4 separate regions of the Homo sapiens genome follow, and regions 1, 3 and 4 are each linked to region 2. Evidence: promoter capture Hi-C in 16 types of primary human blood cells and fetal thymus (Javierre and others, 2016). All regions are on one chromosome and are shown on one strand. The core of a region is centred on a gene start or on the middle of the fragment in contact, and the rest is flanking DNA. Distances in the headings are between cores, read along the strand shown.

Region 1 (3,353 bases), core at 449-2,948, 170 kb after region 2:
GACCCAACCCCAATTAACTTTGCACCCACAGCAAGTACAACTATAGGCTGTTAAATTCCACATATTCCCTTTAAACACTATCTTCTGCATTACTTTCTTGTCATTTATTCCTTTGCTCATTGCATCCTCTGATCCTACTTTCTGCAAAATTTTTACAGTTAAAAATCACAGCCTCTTGGTTAGTTGTATTCTCAGGTATTTTATTCTTTTTGTGGCACTTGTAACTAGGATTGCATTCTTGATTCAGCTCTTAGCTTGAACTTTATTGGCGTACAGAAATGCTACTAAGTTTTGTACATTGATTTTGTATCCTGGAGTCCTTTATCTGTTCTAGGAGCCTTTTGCAGTGTATGAAGGGGACTTAAACTTCAGAAATGTTTTATTTTATTTTAAAAAACCTGAAGCAAATAAGGTGGTTTTTTTTTTTTTTTTTTTAAAGAAAATCACAGCCCCAAATCTTACCTTTCCAAGTAGCTTTTCTTCTCCAGGGGTCACAAAGGACTCCTAGAAGGAATTAAATGTTTTGTGCTTGGAAGTAGAGAAAATCTTGAAATGACCTTTGCAGGGTAGAGCCAAATGGAAGATCTAGTGACTTAGGCATGAGTATCCATAGAGAAGCCTAGAGGAAAAAGTATATTTTCTGTCTCTTGAAGAGCTTTGGGATAATTATTTTTAGCACTAAGATGAAATTTCTGAGGATTACATGGGAGGATTATTTTATTTTTCTAACTCACTGACTTTTCCTTTTTCCTTCTATTTTCTCTAATGTTTCTGCATGTTTTTCAATCATTCAACAAGCATCAATAAAGTACTCATCCCTAGAAGTAAAGCATCTGGAAACACATTTGCTCCTTTTCTCCTTTCATTATTCAATCTTGGTTTGTAATCAAAACTTGCCAATGGCACACTAGGGCTTAGGAACTGGAGCTAATGGTTTCCAGTTCCAGCCAGGAACAAGATGAGAAAGCCAAAGAAGTTGAAGCTCAAAGACTAAAGGAGAGACCATCAGCCTAGGCTTTCCCAGGTTGCAAGATAGGCCCACAGAATAGTGCCAAAGAAACCCTGTTTTAAAAAGTAAAAGAGTTGCTAGGGTTCTATCTTGGTAAAATTCAGGCAGGCCTGTAAGATACCTCTCTCAGGTGTAGTTTCAGATATTATTCAGTGCATCCAGTGACAGGTAGCTAGCTGCTCTTCTGGGCGTAGTTTTCTGTTCTTGTCAGAAGTAGATTTTAGCAATTTTGATCAGAAATATTTTGAACTACTTCCTGACTTCCACTGGTCCTGAACTGTGGTCTTTGTCTTCAACCTCTGAAGTTATAGAAACTAATGTAATTCTAACTTTATAATTCAGACACTGGTAGGCATATTCTTTGTTTTCAAGCCACTAAATTTCCATATTCAGAGTTGAAAACTCCAAATTTTCTTTACTTGGCTCCAAATTATGCACTTTTTAGCTCTCATACTGCCTGTTAATCTTCTATAGACAAATTGCAACTTTCCTGCATTTCTGCTACCACCAAGCACCCAGAGGATGGCAAAAGAGAGAAGGTCCCAGAGCACATAAGCCTCTTTACCTGAGACAGGGTGCAGTCTTTATTTATTTCCTTCTCAGACTACTTCAGCAGTATTGACGCAGGAATGGAAAAGAGCACAGATAGGGACTGAAGACAGAGATCTCTCTAGTCTTCTGGCTAATCTTTGTATAGCCACCATTAACATCCTCTAGCCAGACTCACAGAAAATGTGAAGCATGGGGTTTGGCTCCATTAATATTGGAGCTCTTGTTAGTTTCAGAAGTATCTGGGGCAGTTATAATTGTAGTGCCTCAGAAACTCTGACCTCTGGGAACTTCTTAATCCCTCTTCCCGTAGGACCAAAAGGTCCTCCTGGGAAAAACAGGCAGTTAGATGGGAGAAGAAAATTATTCTCTTTCTTTCTGTGACAAAAAACCCCCGGTAATCCAGTGCTACACTGACTGCTTGTCCTGTAGGCAGTAAGTACGTCTCCTGGGTACAGGGATCTTATGTTCACATCCATCTGTGTTCATATTCATCTGCCTATGCACACTGAGCAGCTTCTGTGGATCCAATAAGTGAATGGAAATTTTTGTGGGCTTCCTGCTTGTTTTGTTTGATAGGCACTGCCCAAACCATGCTATTGAATGGATTGGTGTTAATCTATCATGACTTTTATGAAGGTATTATGATAAAAATGCAAGAGAAAACTGAACAAAATCTTACTGAGAAAATGCAATGTGATATTCAGAGAAAAAAGACCTATAATAATTTTTTTTGTGGTGAGAGGTTTAAAAATGGAATTTATAAATAACCCAATATTAGTTAGCAACTATGTTTTTCCTTTAGGTTTTATTTTCATTTTGAACCTTATATGAATTATTCACACTTATCAACTAATGGAAACAAGCATCATAAGTTTCTTCAAGACTTTTGCTTTATTTCTTTTCCTGTATTTTCCAACATTCCTCCTATTTCCCTTCCCTTTAGGAAAGTGAAAACTCCAGTGGATTTAAAATATATCTTTCTAATTAATTTTCAGTATGCTTATACAGGGATATACTTAATTTATGAAAAAATTCTTTTAAAATTGAATTTATATAACTGTCACTGGGTTGTAAATCTGTTATTCTTTTTCTATCAATGCTATATCTTCAAATTTATACATGTTGCTATGTGTAAGTTGACTTTATTATTTTTTACTGCTGTTCACTACTAAGAAAGACCATTTGAGAATTTTCCCCAATGCCTTATGAATTATAATGCTTTCCTTTCTCGACGGTGGAAACAGATACTATTTCAGGCCCTGTGTGTTGATTGGATACTGTTCTCACTAATTCTTTTAGGTGCCCTCCTCCCTTCCTCCACCTTGGTTAGTGTCCTCATCTGCACACATTCATTCATTACTTGAGGAAGATCCTCTGTAGGTTTTCAGGCTTCTCTCTGTGTGCAGCTTTCTTTTCTCCAGTATTCTTTCTTGCGAGCTTTAGCGGGTTTGGTCTTTCTGTACTCCAATTACATCTCCTCCACTTAGGGACTCCACTGAGTTCCATTTGGTCTTGCTTCCCTGCACTGCAGCCTGGAAACTCTTTGAAGACAGAAAACTGGGGTAGTTGTAGGGCCTGCCTCATTTGTTTCACATATTTCAGGGATAACTGTCCTTACTTGCCTGATGTCTACTGTCTTGAAACTCATTGTTTACTATATTTTATTCCACTTTTGGTTTGTTTTGTTTTAGGTCAGTTAGGAAAGCAAATTCAGTCCCTTTCATCATATCTTGGCTAGAAGCTGAATAATATGAGAATTTTTAGAGTAATTTAATTCACCTCATCAGTATTT
Region 2 (3,302 bases), core at 53-2,552:
CTCGGGGTAGGCTAGCAGTAATAGTTAGAAACATTTCACTTTTTTGTTCTTACTTATTTTCCAGGTAATAGGAAATTTTCTTGTAATTTTAATATACATATTTTGATTAGTGAGGCTGACAGTTTTCATGATTTTATTGGCCATTTTTTTCCTAGGGAGTGTGGTAAGTGCAGATTATAACCCTGATCTATTGAGAACTAAAACCTCTGTCATTTCCTAACATCTTACTGGATTCCTAAAGCTGGAGTTACTTGGACACGTCCTGACCCAGTCCAAGCAGTCTCTGAAAGCCCAGTCTGAGTTTGTGCATCCTGAGTGCACAGGCCAGGGGGTTGAGTGCAGGGGGGATGACATTGTGCAGCACATTAAGGAACACAGGAATAAGGGGAATCTTTTTCTCTGCAAGGTGTGTGACAGACAGCACAATGATACCTGTGTGGAAGAGGATGAGGATGAGGTGGGAGCTACAAGTGCTCAGAGCCTTGGACATTGCTTCTGCTGAGTTCAGCCTCAGCACAGAGTGAAGGATTACAGCATAGGAAGAAAATACCAGAGCCATATCACTCCCAACCAAGACCCATGCTAGCATCAGTTGGTAAAATTTGTTCACAGTGATGTCATCACAAGCCAGGCTGATAACCCCCAAGTTAGAGCAGAGGCAGTGCTCGATTTCATTCCTGGAACAGTAGTGTCTCTGGGCAGCCAGTATAGGCACTGGGATGGTCAACAGGCCATTCCTGAGCATGATGAACCCTGTGGCTTTGAAGACAAAAGCTTTAGTGACTATGGAGGGGTACTGAAGAGGGCGACAGATGGCTATGTATCTGTCTACTGCCATGCAGAGAAAGATGCCTGACTCTATGCAGAAGAAGCAGTGGATGGCATAGATCTGAGCAAAACACATGGGGAGGCTAATGGCCTTGGCATCAAACCAGAAGATGGCCAGGATCTTGGGCATGATGGTGGTGGCCAGGCCAATGTCCACCACTGCTAATATGCCCAGCAAATGGTACATGGGTTCATGTAGCACGGTCTCATGTTGAATGGTGATTATGATGAGGAGATTGGCACCAAGAGCTAAGAGGTAGAGCAGAGTCAGGGGCAGGGAGAGCCAGTGCTGCCACTCATGAATGCCTGGTAATCCCATCAGGATGAACTGGGAAATCTGGAGGCTGGAGTCATAGGTAACACTGGTGGAGGTATCCATGGAATGGGTGCCTCAGTCTCAGTGTCTGTCTGAAATAGAAGAAATCTCTGTTTAAAAGTTCAGCTAAGGGGCTGAGCATCGTGGTTCATGCCTGTAATCCCAGCACTTTGGGAGGCTGAGACAGGCAGATAATTTGAGGTCAGGAGCTCGAGACTGACCTGGCTAACATGGCAAAATCTCATCTCTGCGGAGAATACAAAAATTAGCTGGGTGTGGTGGTGCCTGTCTGTAATCCCAGCTACTTGGGAGGCTGAGGCATGAGAATCATTGAACCTGGGAGGCGGAGGTTGCCGTGAGCCGAGATTGTGCCACTGCACCCCAGCCTGGACAACAGAGTGAGACCCTGTCTTAAAAAACAAAACAAAACAAAAAGTTAAGTGTCTTGGTAAGAGCTCCTCAATAATGAACCAGCTCCTTTTATTCATGAATGACCCTCAACTTTATTTGACTTCTGGAAATATTCCACAGAGGAATAACAAAAAAAGCAAAAAAATTCTAAACAGAAGAGTTGGAATAACTATTTTTCATCACCACTTGTATGTCTAATAAGCATGTCCACATATATTAACAACAGTCTTATCACTAACAGATAACAAATGTTAGTATTTGATTTATTTCCAATTTTCTATTTTATTTTTAAACAGTCTACATCATTATCTAGAGATGATTTTGTATCTTGTTTTTGTCTTTTAGCAGTATGTGTTAAGATGTAATATAAGCACTCAAAAATTTTATTTCATGGATGAATACATTAACCAAAGACTTCACAATATTATTTAAAAAGTGTGATGTTAATTTTAATTGCTGCTTTAAATTTTTGCATTTGGCTATTCTATAATTTACTGACAGGTATTTTGCTTTTAATATTGTTTTCCTTGAGTAGAGTTTCAAAAGTGATGCAAAAATTATATATACAAAGGATATAATAGTCTTAAAATTTTAAATATAATTTTGATTTTATTTTAAGATATATTATCTATACATGGTAAAAATCAAAATAAAATGAAAAATATAAACAATGAAAAGTAAGACTCTCATGCTTGGGGCTTTGAAATCTTTTTCCTTTTCACTAGAGGCAGCCAGTAATATGTTTCTTGGGAATCCTTCCATTAATAGTTTATGCATGGATAAAAACATATATATATATATATATATATATATATAATTTTCATAAAAGACATAATCAATTGTTAGCACACCTTTCTCCTTTTTTCTTTCCTTTTCTTTTTTAACTTAATATTTTGAAGACTGCTCCATATTTCCATACTGCAGTTAAGTTGCATTATTTTCTACCACCTAGATGCCCTATAGTTTAATGATTTTTTTTTGTATTTTTAGAATTGATATATCATATTTGTAGATATTTTGGAGGTACATGTGATATTTTGATACATGTATACAATGTGTAATGATCGAATCAGTGTAATTAGGATATCCATCACCTCAAGCATTTATCTTTTCTTTGTGTTAGGAACATTGCAATTCTCTTTTAGCGATTTTGAAACATACAGTAAATTATTAACTATAATTTTCCTACTGTGCTATTGAATACTAGAACTTATTTCTTCCACCTAACTGTATTTTTGTCCCCATCAGCCACCCTCTATTCTTCCCCTACCCCCACCCTTTCCGGCCTCTGGTAACCACCATTCTATTCATTACTTCTGTGAGATCCACTTTTTTTCTTTTTCCGGCTCACTGCAAACTCCACCTCCCAGGTTCAAGCGATTCTCCTGCCTCAGCCTCCCGAGTAGCTGGGATTACAGGTGTGTGCCACCACACCCGGCTAATTTTTGTATTTTTAGTAGAGATGGGGTTTCACCATGTTGGCGAGGCTGGTCTCAAACTCCTGACCTCAGGTGATCTGCCTGCCTTGGCCTCCCAAAGTGCTGGGATTACAGGCGTGAGCCACCGTGCCCAGCTGAGATCCACTTTTTAAGCTCCCAAACATGTGTAGGAACATGTAATATTTGTCTTTCTCTACTTGATTTATTTCACTTAACACAATAACCTCCAGTTCCATTCATGTTTCTGCAAATGACAGGATTTTATTCCTTTTTGTGGCTGAATAATAGGCCACTGTGTGTGTGTGTGC
Region 3 (3,541 bases), core at 1,042-3,541, 210 kb before region 2:
ATATTAATATCCATTCCCAGTAGTACCCAGATTTTTGTACAGATATCCACTTTTCCTCCCATACCACCCTAATACTCCTGGGGAAGCTGAATCTACTCTACTTCAGAATTGATCTAACTTGTCAAAAGCCAATTATTAGATTTCTTGTCAGTGATTGTTTAGGGAACATAGGCCTAAACCCATCAATGCATGTCATTTTTGTAGCCATAGAATTTGGATTTGGAAAAGCCATGTAACCCAGTGGAAGGCAAGTGTAAAAATTCTGGGAGGCTTCTGGGAAATAAATGTCCTAAATTTTAAGATGGTCCCCTTTTTTTTTTAAGATCTTGTGCAGAGTTGTGAGGCCTGGAATGAAGCTGACACCTGTGCGTATGTGGGCACATACACATGGGTAGGGGGTGTGTGGGGGACATGGGGGAGTGTGAGAGGTGCGGGATGGGGCTCATAGTTGAGCAGTGGAGAGAACTGTAGAAAACCAGATTTGGAGCTGTGAATGACTCACACTTAATCACCACTCTACCAATCCTCTTTTTCAATTATGTTTGAATTGAGTTTCCTGTTACTAAGTACTGTTTGAATTGAGTTTTTGTTCCCTCAGTCTGAAAGCATTTTAACTGGTACATCCCTGATGGATCTCTCTGGGTAAATGTAGTTTCACTGGAAGAGATGGTGATTCCCACCAGATTCCCAAGAGAGCTTATTTTCTCTTGTATTAAGCAGCAGGGGTCAGGCTTATGGCCTTGTATTTGTAGAAATCAGCCATCAGCTTAGCATCACCAGATTTCTGGCATTAGCTGCCCACGTCTGTGGCACTTCAGGCCCATGTAACTATTTCCAGAGTGACACAAGTTTCTTCCACAGTTGTCAACAAGTGGCCCTCACAGGTTCAGTGAGAAGAGGAAGAGGGAGAGAGATCATCAGGATTAATGGATTACTTGCATTTGTGAGACGGTTTGCCAAGTATTGCTACAAACAAGGCACGGGATTTTCTTTTTTCTTTTCTTTTTTTTTTGAGATGGAGTCTTGCTCTGTCCTCCAGGCTGTAGTGCAGTGGAGCAATCTTGGTTTACTGCATTCTCTGCCTCCCAGGTTCAAACGATTCTTCTGCCTCAGCCCTCCCGAGTAGCTGGGATTACAGGCGTGTGTCACAACGCCCTGCTAATTTTTGTATTTTTAGTAGAGACGGGGTTTTGCCATGTTGCCCAGGCTGGTCTGGAACTCCCTGCCTCACGTGATCCTCCCCCCTCGGCCTCCCAAAGTGGTGGGATTACAAGCATGAGCCACCGCGCCCGGCTAAGGCATGGGATGTTTCGAACTGCTGACATTAGAAATTCACAATCCACATCATTAACTGGATCCTCCATGCCCACTCTCTCCCTCTCTGCAGCAGCAATTTCAAATCTTTACTCTCCGCAGTTCCACAGAACACAAGAAACAAACAAACAAGCAAAAAAAGTCAGGCAGGAGCCCAAGTAACCTCTATCAAAGCAAAGACCAGTGCCTAGTCTAACGCTTTTAAGGATTTTAAAAGAGGTGAAGGTGTCCTGCTTATCCTCCAAGCTTGGGTGCTGGGGCCGGGGCGGCTGAGATTTACCAGTGAAACCCAAAGAAAGAGAGGGCAGAAAACTAGAGAAAAGAAACCAGATAATGCTACCCAAGAGGACGAAATAAAGAAGCAGGAAACGAAGCCTGAGGCTAAACCCTGGAGATGACTATTAGGAAAACACCAGAGGATGCCCCGCCCGCCAGCCCACAATGAGCAGCCTGTCCAAGTCACAAAGCGGGGCCTCGGGCCTTGACAGTTCGCGATCTGTAAGCAGAATGTTCCAGGGCCTCCCTGTCGCCTGCATCCAGCCTGGGGGCAATCTTCACTGGTGTGGGAGGCCGAAAGTGGACGGCGACGGAGGCCCCTCTGGTTATCTCTTTGCCGTGCCAACACAGTCTCTGCGCCCACTAAGATGCATGAAATAAAAATTTCCGTGACTCGCCCTTTGCAGTGGAGAACTGAAACAGGCACACCAGGGAATTGGAGCGGAGGAGGGTAACTCAAACTCAGAGTGAGAGGGTTTGCAGGGGGCCGATTTGGGGCCAACAGGCTTCCCAGCAGGCCCCCGGCGCGGGACAGCGGAAGGCGAAACGCTTTCAAGAGACCCCGCTGCCAACATCCCCACGCCCTCGCGCCCTCCCGCCGCCCCAGAAGGCCAACTCCGCCTGCCTGAGTCACAGCTGGAGCTGGGGAGGAGCCAGGGAAAGGAGGCCCCTGACCGTAGTGCGGCCAGCAGTTGCAGGCAGACGGAGCAGAGCGGTCAGGGATCATGAGGGAGAGTGCGTTGGAGCGGGGGCCTGTGCCCGAGGCGCCGGCGGGGGGTCCCGTGCACGCCGTGACGGTGGTGACCCTGCTGGAGAAGCTGGCCTCCATGCTGGAGACTCTGCGGGAGCGGCAGGGAGGCCTGGCTCGAAGGCAGGGAGGCCTGGCAGGGTCCGTGCGCCGCATCCAGAGCGGCCTGGGCGCTCTGAGTCGCAGCCACGACACCACCAGCAACACCTTGGCGCAGCTGCTGGCCAAGGCGGAGCGCGTGAGCTCGCACGCCAACGCCGCCCAAGAGCGCGCGGTGCGCCGCGCAGCCCAGGTGCAGCGGCTGGAGGCCAACCACGGGCTGCTGGTGGCGCGCGGGAAGCTCCACGTTCTGCTCTTCAAGGTCAGTGACCTCAAACGGTCCCCAATCCGAGGCCTTTGCCGGCCTGTGGGCCACCAGCTGGGGGCTCCCCGCTTCCATCCACCTACCACACCCACATTCCTGACCCCTCCCGCCGTCTGTTGCTGTGGAACAGACTCACAGAGCCGCACCCACTTCCCAAGACCCAGCCCCATCCCTCCCTCTCACGCCTGAGCCCCGCCTGGCCAATCCAAGCCCGCCCAGCTCTAGCTCAGGCCACGTCCGCAGAATTTGGTCTGAGTCCCAGCCAATCCCTAAAATAACGGTGGTTGAAAGGGCATTCCGTGACTGCGGGCACTATCCTCTTCTCGCCCCTCACCAGGCCTCACCTACTTTACAGCGTTTTGCAGTTCGCACGCAGCTTTCCCTCCCCTTACCTTCCCACGCCTGCCTTTCCCCCCAGACTCTGGCTGCGGAGGTAAAAGGTTTCCCTTGTGTAATTAAGGAGTGAGTTTCGGGCTGCTGGGGGTAAGGAGCTGCCAGGATCAGTGCTGTGTCCGTCACATGCAGGAGGAGGGTGAAGTCCCAGCCAGCGCTTTCCAGAAGGCACCAGAGCCCTTGGGCCCGGCGGACCAGTCCGAGCTGGGCCCAGAGCAGCTGGAGGCCGAAGTTGGAGAGAGCTCGGACGAGGAGCCGGTGGAGTCCAGGGCCCAGCGGCTGCGGCGCACCGGATTGCAGAAGGTACAGAGCCTCCGAAGGGCCCTTTCGGGCCGGAAAGGCCCTGCAGCGCCACCGCCCACCCCGGTCAAGCCGCCTCGCCTTGGGCCTGGCCGGAGCGCTGAAGCCCAGCCGGAAGCCCAGCCTGCGCTGGAGCCCACGCTGGA
Region 4 (3,458 bases), core at 411-2,910, 250 kb after region 2:
CTTATCTCTGATAGTTTCACCCAAGTTTATACACACACATTCTCTCTCTCTCTCTCTCTCTGAAATAATTTCCCAAATTATCAAATAATCTCTCATTTTTGCTATTCTTCGTATGCTTCAAATAGGTACTACCAGCAATGCATTTTTGTTGTTACAGGATTAAAGTAGAACTTGCTGACATTCACACACTTTTATCTCTGCTGCGTACGTCTCAATTCTGACTTCCCCCAATGTTCAAGTATTCTTAAATTGTAATCAATGCTTTTTGTGTAGTTGCCACGTCACATTTAACCAATTCCGCATTATCTGTAAAACTAGTTTTTCCCAAGTAAAAGTAAGTTGCGCAGTAATGAACTTTTTGCTTCAAATTTTGAATTTACTATCTGTAAATTCAGGATTTACTATCCGTAAATTCAGGATTTACTATCTGTAAATTCAGGATTTACTATATTGGAGACATCCATAGAGACAAAACAGCTGGGATAGAATTTGAGTAGCAGCTAAACTGTAGGTCATCCAAAGGGCTTCTACTTTCTTCCCATGAATATAAGACTGAGATATATTTGAAAATTTTGTAGCCCAGAATATTTAGTTTCCTTGCCACAGAAAAAGCTGGCCTATATATAAACAGTTTCTTTACTGAATGCGTGTATTTATGCACTCTCCAAATAATAGGATTATCTAGATTAAAATTATCTCTTCATCCATGTTCCATCATAGCTGCAAAATACTCTTTGTCAAGTATTTTCTTTTCCTTGTTTTTACCCATTTTCCAAATCCGATGGATAAGCTTCTTTTCTCAAACACAGGTGTGATGGAAACTAAATTATTTATTTCCTAAAATATGACATTAAAATTACCCACAGTTTTGCCTCCTTGTAATCAATGTCTATTTGTGGAGGTTTTAAATTGAGAACTATTATGTAGCAGATCTTTTTCCTGCATATGAGCAAGATAAATTGTTTCTTCTCTCAGAAGTATACAGTCTAGTAGTCACAAATTGTATACAGTATACACAGTCTAAATTGTATACAGAAGTATACAGTCTAGTAGTCACAAACTGTATACAGTATATACAGCCTAAATTGTATACAGAAGTATACAGTCTAGTAGTCCCAAATTGTATACAGTATAGTCTAAATTGTATATAGAAGTATACAGTCTAGTAGTCACAAATACCTGTAAAAATGCATAACAACACAGAAACGGTTTTACACACTACATTTTTGATTCCCAAATAGAGGAATAGTTGAGATTACAAATACCTTGATCGTGAAGCAAAAATATGTGTAACATTTCTATAGACACTGACCCTGGAACTTTATTTTTCTCATTTAGTTCTGGCTAAATTCCAGATTTTGCATTTTTATTTGGCAGATGACATTCTTCTGCCATTTCTTTTTATATTAGTCTTTGATATTAGGTGAAGGGGCAGTAGAATAAGACTGGTTCTATTCCTGGTACCAATGTTGCTCAGGAGAGGCTAGGAGAAATTGTGGAGAGTATTTTACCTTACTCATGAATATATATAAAGAAAGATTAATATGTTATTGTGAATTTGACTAGAAATCTGAACAAAAGAAGAAGTGGAACAAGAATTACTAATAGGAATATTATAATCGTCGCTGGTGTGCCCAGCAGCTTTATATGGCAGGAAGAATGTCTACGTCTAATCACACCCAGTTCCATCCTTCTTCATTCCTACTGCTGGGTATCCCAGGGCTAGAAGATGTGCACATTTGGATTGGAGTCCCTTTTTTCTTTGTGTATCTTGTTGCACTCCTGGGAAACACTGCTCTCTTGTTTGTGATCCAGACTGAGCAGAGTCTCCATGAGCCTATGTACTACTTCCTGGCCATGTTGGATTCCATTGACCTGGGCTTGTCTACAGCCACCATCCCCAAAATGTTGGGCATCTTCTGGTTCAATACCAAAGAAATATCTTTTGGAGGCTGCCTTTCTCACATGTTCTTCATCCATTTCTTCACTGCTATGGAGAGCATTGTGTTGGTGGCCATGGCCTTTGACCGCTACATTGCCATTTGCAAACCTCTTCGGTACACCATGATCCTCACCAGCAAAATCATCAGCCTCATTGCAGGCATTGCTGTCCTGAGGAGCCTGTACATGGTTGTTCCACTGGTGTTTCTCCTTCTGAGGCTGCCCTTCTGTGGGCATCGTATCATCCCTCATACTTATTGTGAGCACATGGGCATTGCCCGTCTGGCCTGTGCCAGCATCAAAGTCAACATTAGGTTTGGCCTTGGCAACATATCTCTCTTGTTACTGGATGTTATCCTTATTATTCTCTCCTATGTCAGGATCCTGTATGCTGTCTTCTGCCTGCCCTCCTGGGAAGCTCGACTCAAAGCTCTCAACACCTGTGGTTCTCATATTGGTGTTATCTTAGCCTTTTTTACACCAGCATTTTTTTCATTCTTGACACATCGTTTTGGCCATAATATCCCACAGTATATACATATTATATTAGCCAACCTGTATGTGGTTGTCCCACCAGCCCTCAATCCTGTAATCTATGGAGTCAGGACAAAGCAGATTCGAGAGAGAGTGCTGAGGATTTTTCTCAAGACCAATCACTAACCAGTTGGAGGTTGGAGAGTCTGTCACTCTAACCTAATAGAAAGCAGAAAAACAGAAGGGAATGCTGCAGCCAATAACATTATTTATCTGTTAACTGAAGCTTTTGACTTTAATTATAATAATGAGAATTTTACCCTTGTCGAACTCTCCTTTTCCAAGTTCTTTTATTTCTATTGCTGGATCCTCAAGGCAGTTTTATAAAGTATGTATTAGTTTTTCCATTCTTGTGATTAATATACTTATGTTCGGAAAAGTTGAGTGATTTACTCAAACTACATGTTTAATAGGAAGTAGTAATTTAAGCCAAATAGACTGCCTTATAGTTTTCTTTAGTATGTTTAAGAAATAACAGAATACGGAATAAAATTCTTACTTTAAAAAGATAATAAACAGAATAAGTGGCTTCTAGAATTCTTAAAATAATAATAATAGCTTACTCTAGTAATAATATTAACATACCATAGATGCAGTGTAGATATATGGGTATTGACAGGTATACCACACATGAATATACTCATATCATGCCCACCATAATCTTATTCAATAGTTACTATAATTTCCCTCATGCACCTAGAGATGCAAGCATAGTCATAAAATTAGATATTAAAGGAAAAAGGAAATAATGCAGCATGAGCATGACATATACATTCGTAAATATTTCATTCATTTGCTTGTTTAATTATTTAAATAATATTTACATAATATATTTTTACATATATGAATATATGTGCGTGTGCGTGTGCATACTTCTACTATGTTTCATGTGTGGGTTTATGAGCTGTAGGAACATTCGAAGACACAGTGTATTGTCTTTAAGTACTTATATACTTTGAGAAAAAAGAAATAATAAGTTGTTT

Evidence for each region. Contacts are between HindIII fragments. The CHiCAGO score rates a contact against its expected background, and 5 or more counts as called.
Region 1: a contact is called between the fragment with the promoter of OR56A3 here and the fragment with the promoter of OR56B4 in region 2, in 13 of 17 cell types (naive CD8 T cells, fetal thymus, total CD4 T cells and 10 more). The highest score is 11.3, in naive CD8 T cells.
Region 3: a contact is called between the fragment with the promoter of CAVIN3 here and the fragment with the promoter of OR56B4 in region 2, in 15 of 17 cell types (M0 macrophages, monocytes, M2 macrophages and 12 more). The highest score is 31.5, in M0 macrophages.
Region 4: a contact is called between the fragment with the promoter of OR52E8 here and the fragment with the promoter of OR56B4 in region 2, in 6 of 17 cell types (fetal thymus, erythroblasts, M2 macrophages and 3 more). The highest score is 7.6, in fetal thymus.

What each region holds. Positions count from the first base shown.
Region 1 is chr11:5,940,596-5,943,948 of GRCh38, reverse strand. It overlaps OR56A3 (olfactory receptor family 56 subfamily A member 3), which reads right to left and starts at 1,698. Exons shown (of 3, transcript NM_001003443.3): 1 at 1,575-1,698. The HindIII fragment of the contact is 14,826 bases long and covers 1-3,353 here.
Region 2 is chr11:6,105,684-6,108,985 of GRCh38, reverse strand. OR56B4 (olfactory receptor family 56 subfamily B member 4) reads right to left here and starts at 1,302. Exons shown (of 1, transcript NM_001005181.2): 1 at 151-1,302. The coding sequence starts at 1,207. The coding sequence ends at 248. The region is part of intron 2 of LOC124902622 (a long non-coding RNA gene); the gene reads left to right. The HindIII fragment of the contact is 4,106 bases long and covers 777-3,302 here.
Region 3 is chr11:6,319,251-6,322,791 of GRCh38, reverse strand. It overlaps CAVIN3 (caveolae associated protein 3), which reads left to right and starts at 2,291. Exons shown (of 2, transcript NM_145040.3): 1 at 2,291-2,699; 2 at 3,228-3,541. The coding sequence starts at 2,316. It overlaps LOC101927825 (a long non-coding RNA gene), which reads right to left. Exons shown (of 7, transcript XR_930998.4): 1 at 3,095-3,541. RefSeq lists enhancers at 1,525-1,614, 1,645-1,704, 1,715-2,074, 2,285-2,334, 2,878-3,541. The HindIII fragment of the contact is 4,344 bases long and covers 1,563-3,541 here.
Region 4 is chr11:5,855,892-5,859,349 of GRCh38, reverse strand. OR52E8 (olfactory receptor family 52 subfamily E member 8) reads left to right here and starts at 1,660. Exons shown (of 1, transcript NM_001005168.3): 1 at 1,660-2,601. The coding sequence starts at 1,660. The coding sequence ends at 2,601. The HindIII fragment of the contact is 1,911 bases long and covers 793-2,703 here.